Linked DNA regions of Homo sapiens: regions 1 and 2 are each linked to region 3. The links are contacts of gene promoters, found by promoter capture Hi-C in blood cells and fetal thymus (Javierre and others, 2016). All regions are on one chromosome and are shown on one strand. The core of a region is centred on a gene start or on the middle of the fragment in contact, and the rest is flanking DNA. Distances in the headings are between cores, read along the strand shown. Region 1 overlaps LOC105375856 (a long non-coding RNA gene). Region 2 has its middle 180 kb from the start of LINC03018. Region 3 holds the start of CYP7A1 (cytochrome P450 family 7 subfamily A member 1).

Region 1 (2,891 bases), core at 322-2,821, 580 kb after region 3:
CTCTTGTCCTCCCTAATGTCCGCACCCTGGTGCTTCTTAGAGCTCTTCTTAATCTTTCCTGTGAGCAGCCAATGGGGTTTGTAGAGAAAGAGTCTCCAAGTAGACACAGAGTCAATTTCTGCAGCCCCCAGAGCTTTCACACTGTCTGGCCAGCCCATGCTTGTCTCAGTTGTTCAGTAGGTTCAAAAAAAGTCGTGAATTTAAAGTGAGCATGGTTGATTTTGTTCTAATGGGGAACAAGGGTCTTCCAGCTCTCTGCAAGTTGGGCAGATGCAGAAACTCTCTGTTTGCATTTTAGTTAATTTTTTTTTTTTTTTGCTCTTTTCTTTATATACTTTATCTTTTACTTTTTTGGGTTTATCTTGCTGGGCAATTTTTTCCTCCGAAATATTATAAGTTATGTGTTTAGTTTATTGCAACAAAACAAACTCTAATAGGCCTATATGGTAAATCAACACTATTGCTACAACCCTGTAAATAAGGCCAAAGCTAATGAGACCAACCTTGCTTTGTGATCATGAATAATCCTTCTGTTTTAGTATTTTTGATCAGAAGGAGGGTGACTTTAAGAAAAAAATTGCCCTTCTATGGAAACCTATGCATTGTCTATAAATAGCACACCCTTCCGGGTTATCTGATTCTATACTTTCATTTACTAGGAATTATTTTACAACTCTGCAAGTTGTAGGTAACTGATAGCAATGCAAAATAATTTTTGATTGTAGACATGCAGATTCTGTTCTGCCTGGTAGAGGTTTAACTTCCTTTCTCCTCTGTGAAAAATAAGTTTTTTTGTTTGTTTGTTTTTCTTTTTTTTTTTTTTTTTTTTTTGAGACGGAGTCTAGCTCTGTAGCCTAGGCTGGAGTGCAGTGGCGCGATCTCGGCTCACTGCAAGCTCCGCCTCCCGGGTTCAGGCCATTCTCCTGCCTCAGCCTCCCAAGTAGCTGGGACTACAGGCGCCTGCAACCACGCCTGGCTAATTTTTTTTTATTTTTAGTAGAGATGGGGTTTCACTGTGTTAGCCAGGACGGTCTCGATCTCCTGACCTCGTGATCCGCCCGCCTCGGCCTCCCAAAGTGTTGGGATTAAAGGCGTGACCCACCGCGCCCGGCCGGAAAATAAGTTTTACGTCAATTTACACATTCTTTTCAATATTCCTAATCTAAAAATGTGTCTGTTCTTTGGATTCTCATTTGAATCTTCTTGGTTTTCTTACTGATTAAAGAATTAAATATTTAACACAAGTCAGTTTTATATCTGTATGAGAATCACGGTTTTACCTTTAACGAACCTTATTGATACGGTTTGGCTCTGTGTCCCCATCCAAATCTCACCCTGTAGTTCCCATAATTCCCATGTGTTGTGGGAGGGACCTGGTGAAAGATGATTGAATCACGGGGGCAGGTCTTTCCAGTGCTGTTCTCTTGATAGTGAATGGGTCTCATGAGATCTGATAGTTTTAAAAACAGGAGTTCCTCTGCACAAGCACTTTTTGCCTGCTACCGTCCACGTAAGGTGTGATTTGCTCCTCCTTCTCTTCCGCCATGATTGTGAGGCTTCCACAGCCATGTAGAACTGTGAGTTCTTCATTAAACCTCTTACCTTTGTAAATTGCCCAGTCTCAGGTATGCTTTAGCAACAGCGTGAAAACGTGCTAATACAATTTTCTTTTTTTTTTTTTTTTTTTGGAGACGGAGCCTCACTCTGTCGCCCAGGTTAGAGTGCAGTGGCGTGATCTCGTCTCCTTGCCACCTCCACCTCCCGGGTTCAAGCCATTCTCCTGCCTCAGCCTCCCGAGTAGCTGGAATTACAGGCACGTGCCACCATGCCTGGCTAATTTTTGTATTTTTAGTAGAGACTGTGTTTCACCATGTTGGTCAGGCTGGTATGGAACTCCTGACCTCGTGATCTGCCCACCTCGGCCTCCCAAAGTGCTAGGATTACAAGAGTGAGCCACCGCACCTGGCCACTTATCTTTTAACAAGGCTATGGATTTGTCACTAAGTAATGCTTTTGCTACATTTCACAAGTTTTGTTAGAAAACATTTTAGTCACTGGTCATTTATAAATGTTTTATACTTTGCATTATTCTTCTTTGATCTCTGACTTGTTTAGAATTTTGCCAGATTTGTAAACATGTTTTTTTCTCTTGGTTTATTTTGTCTTTGACTTGTAACTAATTTGCATTGTGGTCTGAGAATACACTCTGTATCTATCTTGCCATCCTTTGAAATTTGTTAACGTTAACTTAATGGTTTAGAATGTAGTCAGTTTTCAAAACTATTCTATTTGTGCTTTAAAAGAATGTAAATTATTTAATTATGGGATGTAATATTCTCCATATGCCCATTGGATGAAACATATTAATTTTTCTTTCTAAATCTTTTATGGCTAATTTTATTGTCTGCTTTATCTATTGAGTACTGAGAGAGAGGTATTAAGTATTCCATTGGGATAATGGATTTATTTATTTCTTGTAGTTCCATTAAGTTATGTAAGTGCAGAATTGAGTCATATGTTATTTTAGAATTGTTATATCTTCCAGTAAAATGAGCCTTATATCATTATGAGACTTTTGATCCCTTTTTGCTCTAAAGTCTGTTTTGTTTGTTATTATTATGCCCACCTTACTTTCTTTTAGTTAGCGTTTGTTTGATGTACTAGTTAAGATACAGGCTAAATTACAGTAACACAGATTCCCACCTAAGAATGGCTTAAATAAGAGAGAAGACTATTTCTCCCTAATCTGCAATGATCTGAAGGTAGGTAGTACAGGGATTATAGAGCCCAGGTGCCTTCTGTCTCAATGCTTTGCCAGCCTTCTCGTGATGACCTTATTCACATGGTCAAAGATGGTTCACCCCAACCCTGACTCCCTCTTCTCTGTTCTG
Region 2 (2,792 bases), core at 139-2,638, 930 kb after region 3:
CTTTGATATCAGGATGATACTGGCCTCATAAAATGAGTTAGGGAGGATTCTCTCTTTTTCTATTGATTGGAATAGTTTCAGAAGGAATGGTACCAGCTCCTCCTTGTACCTCTGGTAGAATTCGGCTGTGAATCCGTCTGGTCCTGGACTTTTTTTGGTTGGTAAGCTATTAATTATTGCCTCAATTTCAGAGCCTGTTATTGGTCTATTCAGAGATTCAACTTCTTCCTGGTTTAGTCTTGGGAGAATGTATGTGTCGAGGAATTTACCCATTTGAAAACCAAATACATATAATTAAATCCTAATTTAATTTTAAATTTCAGATAGAGTAAAAATTTAAAAAAAAAAAAATCATAGCCTTGAAGGTACAGTTAAGAAAGTTCTTTTGTTGAATAAGGAAAAATGCAAAATTATAAAATATTATTTACTGGATTACATTAAAATCAGTTTTTAAAATTAAAATAAAAGCCCATCAATTATATGTAAAGGAAACAACAAAAGGAGCATTTACAACACACATGTCAAGGAAATTTTAGTCTTAATATGTATAAAATCTCCCATCAATCAATAGGAAAAAATGAACACTACCAATAAGAACAATTATAAAAGAAAAAAAAAGAGAAAATTCACCAAGGAAGAAATTAAATAGCCTATGAGCATGAAAAAATTAATATCATTGGTGGAGAACACAAACTAAACAAAAAAATAAATGATGATGGATTAAGGAGGTGCTGAACATGTGGGGAAGTAGTCATTCTCATAGACTTGGGTAGAATGTAAGCTTTCTATGGGACAATTCCTTCCCTAGATGTTCCTGTCTTTCAGGCTCTGCCTTAGAGCAAGCTTCTCAGCCTGTGGGATAGCCGCCCTGCAGGCTGTAACCCTTTATAAGAAATAAAGTTTCCTTTCTAAATTTATGGATCTCATGATTTTCCAGTTGACACAGAAAATCTGCCTGAAAGCCTGAAATATTTAGTATCTGGCCCTTTATAGAAAAAGTATGTCAATCCCTGCCCTATGCAGACAAAAATACAGAAAGTCTACAAATAATATCTAAAATAAAAGGAATTATCTCTGGTATAGAAAATTTTAAATGATTTTTGTTTTTCTTTGTTATAGTTCTTGTATTATCCAAGGGAATATTTTCAAATTAATGAATTTTTAAATTAACAAATAAAAATTATATTTATTGTGTACAACTTGATGTTAAAAATTATGTATATATACGTGTGGAATAGCTAAATTGAGCTAATTAACATGCATTACCTCACATATTTATCCTTTTTTACACTATATCAGCATTAGCAATTTATTGTATGTTTATAAAAAGGAGAGACATACTTTAAAATATAAGTAATCATTTTCACTGGAGAGATAAAATTATGGTTAGTCTGCATGTCTTTTTTGACCTTTTTTCTGTATAGTTTTTATATTTTTAATACGATGACTATATGTTACTTACATAATCAGAAAATACTTTTACATGCATTTTAATCAAAGTCCTGAAATTTCTAATTTTTATTTTTCTGATTTCTTGGGGCATCTTTGTATTACATTTAACATCTTTTTACTTTTTCCTAATATGGGGCAAAACTTGCTGAAAGACTTTGACAATCAGAGTTTTTAATGTTACCTACTTTGAAGTTTAAGTCAAGTCACAAATTACAGCAGCCATCTGGTCTTAGTTATCTATAGTTTAAATCATGATATTTCAAAAGAAATAAATCCAGATATGCAAAATATACAAAAAGAAAGACCAGTTGTCAACTTTCCTTGTTTGCTGTGTTTTGCTTTTTTGGATCTGGATAAATTTACTCAAGTACTTTCAAACTCTCTGGAAAATGCCTATTCCTATATAACACACTCCTATTTTATAGATTATCAAATTTTAGAATTAGTTGAAAAGTGTCCTGTGTGATCTCACAAAGCTTTGCAATCATGATTTCAAAATTTAGTAAAAAAAAGCTCAAAACCAAAAATGCCAGCCCATCTTGAACATAGATGTGAAAGATAGCCTTCTATGAATGACTAGATAATTGATTTCAGCAATACATTAAAAGTTAGATAGTTTTGGAGATAGAACCAAACAAAACCCAAGGAACCACAGGAAGATGGAATGTCCACACCAAGGACATCTGTCCTCTCTGCAGTTACCGTCTCTGGGTGCAGAGCTCACTGTGTGGTTCTGTCTCTCAAAAGGACTGCGAACCACAGCCTGGGCCATCCCCCTCCCCTGGTTACACCCAGCTCAGCCAAATGCACTGCCATGCCCAGGCCTGGACACCTCTTTCTGAGACCTTCCCCAAACTTCAGAATTTGCATGTGTGGGTTTCATGATCAATGACTAGCTTGCGTTCCTGTTGTCTCTGGAACAGACTTCTATACGAAAGATCAAATGTCCCTTCCAGCTCATGTTCTCCCAGACAGAAACCAGCATGGATGCTTGCTCAGGAAGCAAGCTCACGTGCACCACCAGAAGGCCATCATCACAGTCGCATTTTTATCTACCTTTGCCTTGTTCCCTTGTAGTTCTTTGGTGGGGATATACCATAAGGCCTTAATTTCTAAACTATATTGATTTAGACACTACTCTTCAGAAAAAAAAAGTAAGAAACATATGCACATCTAATGTTTATATCAACTGACATGTATTTATTGGAGATCAAGGAGATCAGGTGAATGTGATTTTGGCATCAAATTTCCTCCAGTTTAAAACAGAGAGGGGTACCAGTAGATGCTGGGTTTAAAACAGAGAGAGGTACCAGTAGATGCTGGGCATGGATTTCAGCCAC
Region 3 (2,700 bases), core at 171-2,670:
CAGTTAAATAAATTATAGTACATTTATCCAATGGAAGATTAAGCACATATTCAATATAATTATTTATACACACATATAGATACACACATGTATAAATATAGAGAATACTGTGGGTGTATGTGTGTGTGTGTTTATATACATATATATACACACACAGTACTGTTGCCTACCTTCTTTTGTCTTAATTCTGTGAACTCTCATTCACTCTGCTTCAGTAGGATACATCCTTCTTTTTGGTTCTTAGACTCACCAAGTTGATCCTTGACTCAAGACATTGCATTTGCTGCTTCCTCTTCCTGGAATATCCTTCCTTCTGATATTCACATGAGTAGTCTCTTCTTGTCATTCAGATCTCAAATGTCACAATTTCAGAGAGCCCATCTCTGATCATCATATCTAAAGTTGTCCTCATTCCCCCATAGCTTTCTATACCATGTTTTATTTTTTTCATAACATGTATTTTATTACTCCTTTCTCCATTGGAATAGAATCTCCATTAGATTAGGAAATCTGCCTATCTTATTAATGCCTGCAACTGGAATACTTTTGAAGAGTTCTTGGCACGTAATAAATACTCAACTAATATTTTTGTGTACACAGAAATAAAGTTTGGAAGAACAGATGCCAAATTGTTACTAGTGGTTACTTCTGAGTAAAGGAGTAGCATGGTAGGTAAATTATTAATAGATGTTCACTTTCCACCAAGATATGTTTTAGTTAGTCTTAACTTACTTGAAATGAAATTTATTACTTTAATAATTAGAAACATTGATAAACATTTTAGTCACAAGAATGATAGATAAAATTTTGATGCTTCCAATAAGTTATATTTATCTAGAGGATGCACTTATGTAGAATACTCTCTTGAGGATGTTAGGTGAGTAACATGTTACTATATGTAGTAAAATATCTATGATTTTATAAAAGCACTGAAACATGAAGCAGCAGAAATGTTTTTCCCAGTTCTCTTTCCTCTGAACTTGATCACCGTCTCTCTGGCAAAGCACCTAAATTAATTCTTCTTTAAAAGTTAACAAGACCAAATTATAAGCTTGATGAATAACTCATTCTTATCTTTCTTTAAATGATTATAGTTTATGTATTTATTAGCTATGCCCATCTTAAACAGGTTTATTTGTTCTTTTTACACATACCAAACTCTTAATATTAGCTGTTGTCCCCAGGTCCGAATGTTAAGTCAACATATATTTGAGAGACCTTCAACTTATCAAGTATTGCAGGTCTCTGATTGCTTTGGAACCACTTCTGATACCTGTGGACTTAGTTCAAGGCCAGTTACTACCACTTTTTTTTTTCTAATAGAATGAACAAATGGCTAATTGTTTGCTTTGTCAACCAAGCTCAAGTTAATGGATCTGGATACTATGTATATAAAAAGCCTAGCTTGAGTCTCTTTTCAGTGGCATCCTTCCCTTTCTAATCAGAGATTTTCTTCCTCAGAGATTTTGGCCTAGATTTGCAAAATGATGACCACATCTTTGATTTGGGGGATTGCTATAGCAGCATGCTGTTGTCTATGGCTTATTCTTGGAATTAGGAGAAGGTAAGTAATGTTTTATCTTTAAATTGCTCTTTGATTCATCCATTTAATTTTTTTACCTTCATTTTTATACAGTAAATTTGGTTTTCTATACTTACACATATTAGCATTATCTTCCTTATTTTTTAAATGAAAAATTTGATTTGAATTTTTAAAGTAATATCTTTTTTACTATATCTCACAAGACATATGACAGCTTCCCTTTTTAGTATTGGCATATACCGATGGTAATATATAAATGTATATTGGTGTTAAACATAACTGACAGAAATTGTATAAGGTCTCTATGTACATTTATATGTGTATCTAAAGAGGAAGCCCAGATTAGTAAGGATACAAGTAGCAAGTGGGAATCTACAATGGAAAGGATTGCTTTCTCTCACATGGCTTCAATAGATACTCTTGTTAAATAAATGTTCTCTTTTAAGCTCATTCTTGTGCATCGCATAGACTCAGCCTAAGCCTGAACAAGAGCATAGAGCCTGAGCTGATCATTCTATTACTGTTTTTAAATAAATGTTAATCAACTGTGGTGAATTGGGAAAGTTTGCTGAGTGTATGTGACATCGATTTCATTTATTTACAACTGGTTCAAGAATGCAAGAAAAACAAATACAGTCAGATCCAGAACCATAGTTTATTTAACTTCTAATTGGCTCAAGGAGTAATTGTGGGGAGGCATATAGATATTCTCTGCTATGTCAATCTCAAAAAGAGAAAATAACCCTAACCATCTTTCAGCTTTGTAGATTGCTATGTGTTTTCTGCCTTTTGCAGTTTCTTTCAGGCCTGATAGTTTTTACTTTTAATTAAACTACTTATCTTCAAACTAAGAAAAGAAAGGTAATTACTTTATACTGTATTATTCTATCAAGAGGTACAGAAGTTTATGTTGGAAAATAAGTTTACATGTTCTAATAAAAACATTTTAAAGGAGCACTGAATTACAATAGATGATTCCGTCAGTGTTTATCTTACTCAATTTCATTTTATAATAAGCTGATTTCTCACATGAGATTCTTCTTCTCTGAAACCATCCTTATAGAATATAATATAGATATCTTTAAACTAGGAATATTTTCAAAACCTCAGTTCTGAAATCCTCCCTTATTCAGTGATCTGTGTCTTTAAAGAAAATA

The links. The method cuts DNA at HindIII sites, captures the fragments that hold promoters and counts their contacts. A CHiCAGO score of 5 or more calls a contact.
Region 1: a fragment that was not itself captured here is called in contact with the fragment with the promoter of CYP7A1 in region 3 in 1 of 17 cell types (neutrophils); the score reaches 5.9 in neutrophils.
Region 2: a contact is called between a fragment that was not itself captured here and the fragment with the promoter of CYP7A1 in region 3, in 1 of 17 cell types (neutrophils). The highest score is 5.1, in neutrophils.

Annotation. Positions count from the first base shown.
Region 1 is chr8:57,917,455-57,920,345 of GRCh38, reverse strand. The region is part of intron 2 of LOC105375856 (a long non-coding RNA gene); the gene reads right to left. Among named protein-coding and RNA genes, the nearest start is that of LINC01602, 59 kb to the left of the region's middle. RefSeq lists enhancers at 438-948, 949-1,461. The HindIII fragment of the contact is 4,723 bases long and covers 1-2,891 here.
Region 2 is chr8:57,565,191-57,567,982 of GRCh38, reverse strand. No RefSeq gene overlaps it. Among named protein-coding and RNA genes, the nearest start is that of LINC03018, 180 kb to the left of the region's middle. The HindIII fragment of the contact is 1,085 bases long and covers 846-1,930 here.
Region 3 is chr8:58,498,883-58,501,582 of GRCh38, reverse strand. CYP7A1 (cytochrome P450 family 7 subfamily A member 1) reads left to right here and starts at 1,420. Exons shown (of 6, transcript NM_000780.4): 1 at 1,420-1,564. The coding sequence starts at 1,485. RefSeq lists an enhancer at 989-1,210, a promoter at 1-1,444 and a silencer at 1,542-2,700. The HindIII fragment of the contact is 6,882 bases long and covers 1,054-2,700 here.